2 separate regions of the Homo sapiens genome follow, and region 1 is linked to region 2. The links are contacts of gene promoters, found by promoter capture Hi-C in blood cells and fetal thymus (Javierre and others, 2016). All regions are on one chromosome and are shown on one strand. Each heading gives the region's core, a stretch centred on a gene start or on the middle of the fragment in contact. The rest is flanking DNA. Distances are from core to core; before and after follow the strand shown.

Evidence for each region. Contacts are between HindIII fragments. The CHiCAGO score rates a contact against its expected background, and 5 or more counts as called.
Region 1: a contact is called between a fragment that was not itself captured here and the fragment with the promoter of MAP3K1 in region 2, in 1 of 17 cell types (fetal thymus). The highest score is 5.6, in fetal thymus.

What each region holds. Positions count from the first base shown.
Region 1 is chr5:55,710,003-55,712,702 of GRCh38, forward strand. It overlaps SLC38A9 (solute carrier family 38 member 9), which reads right to left and starts at 2,322. Exons shown (of 16, transcript NM_173514.4): 1 at 2,215-2,322; 2 at 1,450-1,497. RefSeq lists enhancers at 1,770-1,849, 2,420-2,469, 2,560-2,700, 2,585-2,700. The HindIII fragment of the contact is 3,721 bases long and covers 1-2,700 here.
Region 2 is chr5:56,814,105-56,816,804 of GRCh38, forward strand. MAP3K1 (mitogen-activated protein kinase kinase kinase 1) reads left to right here and starts at 1,445. Exons shown (of 20, transcript NM_005921.2): 1 at 1,445-1,951. The coding sequence starts at 1,470. RefSeq lists enhancers at 673-802, 2,254-2,700 and silencers at 1,163-1,932, 2,003-2,122, 2,303-2,542. The HindIII fragment of the contact is 8,983 bases long and covers 1-2,700 here.

The sequences.
Region 1 (2,700 bases), core at 160-2,659, 1.1 Mb before region 2:
GGGTTGCAGTGAGCTGAGATTGCGCCACTGCACTCCAGCCTGGCAACAGAGCAAGACTCCATCTCAAAAAAAAAAAAAAAAAAGAAAAAAAAAAGAAAAAGAAAAGAAAAGGAATCTAAGTCTAACTGTTCTCAGAAGTCTAGGGGAAGGAAAGGTAAATTTTATTTTCTTAGAAACAAAGCAACTATATAGGTGACAACTTTTTTTTTTTTTTTTTTAAGACAGGATCTCCCTCTGTGGCTCAGGCTGGAGTGCAGTGGTGCAGTCTTGGCTCACTGCAACCTCCGCCTGCCGGGCTCAAGCAATTCTCCTGCCTCAGCATCCCAAGTAGCTGGGATTACAGATGAGACGCATACCACCACACCTGGCTGATTTTTGTATTTTTAGTAGAGACAGGGTTTCACCATGTTCGCCAGGCTGGTCTTGAACTCCTAACCTCAAATGATCCGCCCACCTCAGCCTCCCAAAAGTGTTGGGATTACAGGCGTTAGCCACCGCAATCCGCCGAACCTTCTATCTTAACACGAAGTTTGTAGTTGTTTATGAGGCAGAGAGATTTTTCTCAAGTTAGGACATGGGTAATTTTGACCTATTGAAACTTTTTTTGTTTAGTTTTTGTTTTTGTTTTTTTTGAGACGGAGCCTCACTCTGTCACCAGGCTGGAGTGCGGTGGCACGATCTCAGCTCACTGCAACCTCCGCCTCCTGGGTTCAAGCGATTCTCCTGCCTCAGCCTCCTGAGTAGCTGGGACTGCAGGCATGTGCCACCACACCTGGCTAATTTTGGTATTTTTTTTTAGTAGAGACGGGGTTTCACCATATTGGCCAGGATAGTCTTGATCTCTTGACCTCGTGATCTGCCTGCCTCAGCCTCCCAAAGTGCTGGGATTACAGGCGTGAGCCACGGCACCTGGCCAAAACGTTTTTAAAAAATCTTTCTCCTCAGCAGCTGCCTATCCTACATATGTCAGATCTTTGTCATGTCTGAAGGTATTAAAAAGAAAAAAGAGGCTGGGCGCAGTGGCCCACGCCTGTAATCCCAGCACTTTGGGAGGCCAAGGCAGGCGGATCACTTGAGATCAGGAGTTCAAGACCAGCCTGGCCAACATGGTGAAACCCCGTTTCTACTAAAAATACAAAAATTAGCGGGGCGTGGTGGCGGGCAGCTGTAATCCTAGCTACTCAGGAGGGTGAGGCACGAGAATCGCTTGAACCAGGGAGGCGGAGGTTGCAGTGAGCCGAGATCACTCCACTGCACTCCAGCCTGGGCGACAGAGCGAGACTCTTGTCTGAAAAAAAAAAAGAAAGAAAAGAAAAGAAAAAAGAAAACAAGGTGGAGGTACAACTTACAACTTATAGTGTGCTCATCTACAGAGCACGGCAATGGATAAGACACTGCCTGGGAGTCATGACAATTAGGTGTTGGTCGAGTTTGCCATTAAATGGTTACCTGGTGTTGAGTAGGTTTCTCCAACTCGGTGGACCTCAGTTTCCTTCTCTGTAAAATGAGGAGAATGCGCTTGACTAGCTGCTCTCAAACCCCTCTTCCAGCTTTACTATGCTGAGATGTCAAGCTACCCACTATCAACACACTCACTCTCACAACTGAGTCGTGTGAAAAGCGTGGCGAGGGCTTACCAGTCATGGCCCTCACCCCCTCTGTGGTCCTAGCTCAAGGCCCAAAGGGGGTTCCTCCCTCATGTTCCCCCTCTAGATGTCCCCAACTCGGGATGGAGAAAGGTGCTCCCAGCCGTGATCGCGCCACCTCACTCAAGCCCAAGCGACGGAGCAAGACCCTATCTCAAGAGAGAGAAAGAAGGGTGCTCCCATTCCTGCAAGTCCCACAATTCTCCTACTCCCTCCTTCTCTCACCCGAGGGTCAGGGTGTTCATTTACCCCAACCCTATCTTTTCTCTAAGGCTCCAGCTGACACCGACTCCCATAGACACTCGGATTTCCTCAGACCCCGAGGGACTCCTGACTTTCTTTCCCTGAGCCCTTGAGGAGCGCGCGCCGTGCCTCCGGAGCAGTCTCCGCGGCTCCAGGCTATGGCCTCCCTGAGCCCCAAAAGAAGAGACGGTTCCGATGCGCTGCAAAGAACTATCCCAGGTGACAGCCGGCTTCGCCCCAACTTCAACCCTTCCCGCCGCCTTCCCTCGGATACCTTCCCACCTCCCCGAGGGGCGAGTTTGCTAGACGTGGGAACGTGATCTACCTGAGCAGGCCGAGCCTTCAACCTCGGAGAACTAGACGAGAAGATAAAGATTCCCTTCCCAAATTCTCGCAATTTGCGACCGCGGGGCTCCTAGTCCAAACAGGAAGCGGCAATAGCCTGGGTCGCAGGGGCCGGCGGGAGTTGGAGTTCTGAATGCGCCAAGCCCGCGGTCGCTGTCAAACCTCTCGCCGCTACGGACTACAACTCCCAGAGGGCTCTGCGACGGCCAGCACGCCCATCACCGCAGGGCCCAGCCCCGAGGCTTCAGGAGGCTGGGCAGCCGGCGCGCCCAGGTGGGCGAGTCCAGTCGGAACTGCAGCCCCGAGTTTGCTCCAGTTCCTTGTCCCGGCTGGAGGCTGGGAGGGGTAGTAGAAGGAATGCAATCTCTTGCCATTCATAGAGCCCCGGAGGCCACGTGAGAAAACGCTGATGCGGCACCTCCATCGAGGGATCACCCCTCTTTTGGGCTTTCCTGGCGCGTGTTGT
Region 2 (2,700 bases), core at 195-2,694:
ATTATTCTGTAAATAGTTCAGGCTTTTGTCTAAATATGTGAAGACTGACAAGACTATCTCCGTGAGAATCCGCACCCCCCCACCCCAACCTCCCCCCTCCTTAATCATGTTTCACAAAGTAAATCTATAGACGTTCCTCCTGGGTTTTGGGAGATTCCCCATCCTAAACAAACCAGCTGGAGGAAAGGAAAGGAAGGAAGAAATAAACGCAACACAGAAGTTCTCCTCAGTTGACAAAAGGTCAAAAATCATTAACGTGTAAATGTTGCTTTTTCCATCCCAAAGCACCTTCTCACGTAGAGTCCAGGGACTAGGAGGACTCACAACGCAGCGATGGGCAGCCAGGCCCTGCAGGAGTGGGGACAGAGGGAACCCGGCCGGTGGCCCGACCCTGCAGGGAAGAAGGACGTGCGGCGAGAAGCATCGGATTCGGGGAGGGCCGGGACCTGGCCGAGGGTGACATTACCGAGCACTTCCTGGCACAGCGCTGGTCCCCTCCCCAAACGCGCTATATGTGGTTCTGTACGGGACTGCCTTTCCCAAAGACAGCCAAGGAAAAACTAAAGATCGACGGGGACACCCGCCTCCCTTCCTCGCCCCAACGGTTTCTCAGAGGCTGTGGGGACTTGGTGAGGGTAGGGGGTAGTTGTCCCAAATCAGCAGCTTCAGGATGTAAGGTATTACAGAAAACTTTGAAGTTTTGTTATCTGTAGCACAGGGACAGGGGTGGGACAATAGAGAAGGAATGTTTTCTTTTCAAAAGAAAACACAAACAAAACTTTATTTTTCTGGTCCGCGGCAGCCTGTCTGCTGAACGTTGACTTGCTTTCGCTTTGCAGCAGGCGACGGTCCCGGGCGCCACCTGCGCGTCGGTGGGAGGCTGGTCCACGCCCGGGTCCCCCGACGCCCACTGCAAAGGGCAGTGGGAATGACAGACTGTAAACCCTCTCGCCTGCGTCCCCTTCAAGCACCAGAAACCCAAGTTGGAACTAATTCTTTCTTTCGGAAGGTGCAACTCCCCTCCCGCGAGCTCCGCGGTGCCGGGCCGAGATTGCCGAGAGGAAGCGGCGCAGCGCTGCCGCCAAGGCTCCTCCTGTCGCCGGTGCGGCCGGGACTACCTGGCGGCGCGGCGCGTGCAGCGCGCAGAGTCCCGGGAGCCCACGCCTCCGCCTCCGCCCCCGCCCCCTCCGCCTCCCAGTCCACCTCGCCCGCCCGCCCTCTCGCCCGGCGGAGAGCACAGCCCACTCCCTCCCACCTGCGGCCGCCGGGCCGCCCTCCACCCACACCTCTGCCGCAGGCCGGACCCAGTGCGCCCGCCCGTCGGTCAGTCCAGGCCAGGCGCCCGGCGGGCCGCGCTCACGCAGTTGGCGCAGGAGGCCTTACGCTGGCGGCGCAGTGCCCGCCCCCTGCGCTCTCCCCGCCCCCTCCCTCCCTCGCAGGGGCCGAGCGAATGTAGCCCGCGAGAGAAAATGGCGGCGGCGGCGGGGAATCGCGCCTCGTCGTCGGGATTCCCGGGCGCCAGGGCTACGAGCCCTGAGGCAGGCGGCGGCGGAGGAGCCCTCAAGGCGAGCAGCGCGCCCGCGGCTGCCGCGGGACTGCTGCGGGAGGCGGGCAGCGGGGGCCGCGAGCGGGCGGACTGGCGGCGGCGGCAGCTGCGCAAAGTGCGGAGTGTGGAGCTGGACCAGCTGCCTGAGCAGCCGCTCTTCCTTGCCGCCTCACCGCCGGCCTCCTCGACTTCCCCGTCGCCGGAGCCCGCGGACGCAGCGGGGAGTGGGACCGGCTTCCAGCCTGTGGCGGTGCCGCCGCCCCACGGAGCCGCGAGCCGCGGCGGCGCCCACCTTACCGAGTCGGTGGCGGCGCCGGACAGCGGCGCCTCGAGTCCCGCAGCGGCCGAGCCCGGGGAGAAGCGGGCGCCCGCCGCCGAGCCGTCTCCTGCAGCGGCCCCCGCCGGGTGAGCAGCACGGCCGGGGTCGCGGCGGGGACTTGGAGAGCGGGCAGAGGGCAATGAATGAACCCCGGGCACCATGCACGGCGTCCCGGGGTTCAGCGCAGCGAGGCTACGCGCCGCTCGCCGGGACCTACGCCCCTGAGCACCCCCCGACCCCTTCGGAGTCGGGCGGCGCCCCGGACCCAGCCTGGGGGACCGGACGGGGACGTGCGGAAGAGTTTGTTATTGTTTGCAGACATGTGACAGGCGTGCGAGCCTCTCTGCGGGGAACCGTTGCGAAAAGGTGTAGGGGGCCACGGCTGGCTTTGTGGGACTCCTGGAATCGGGGCTCTCCGAGGAGCCCGGGGGCGGGGCACGGCCCTGCGGCGGCGCCCCCGGACGGGTGTCCCCGGGGCAAAGGCACTGGGGGGCGAGGCCCGAGCCTGAGGCGGGCGGTGGTCGGAAGAGGGGCGGGGTGGGTGAGAAGCCCGAGGTCGGGTGGGAGACTGAGAGGACCGAAGAGAAAGTAGCAGGTCCCAGCGGCCGTGACAGGCAGAGCCCCTCGGCCCGCCCGGGACTCGAGTCCCTAGGCAGATACCGCGGGCTGGGCCCGGACGCAGGCGGCGCGCCCCCAGCGCCGGCCGCAGGGCTCCAGGAGGACGGCTCGGTAACGCCTGTCAAAGCCGTGCGGCGGGAGGCTGCACACTCGCGGAGGCTTGCAGTCTTTTAGGAAGTGCGGTTTGTCTAATTGCAGCCCCCAAGGGGCTTTGAGT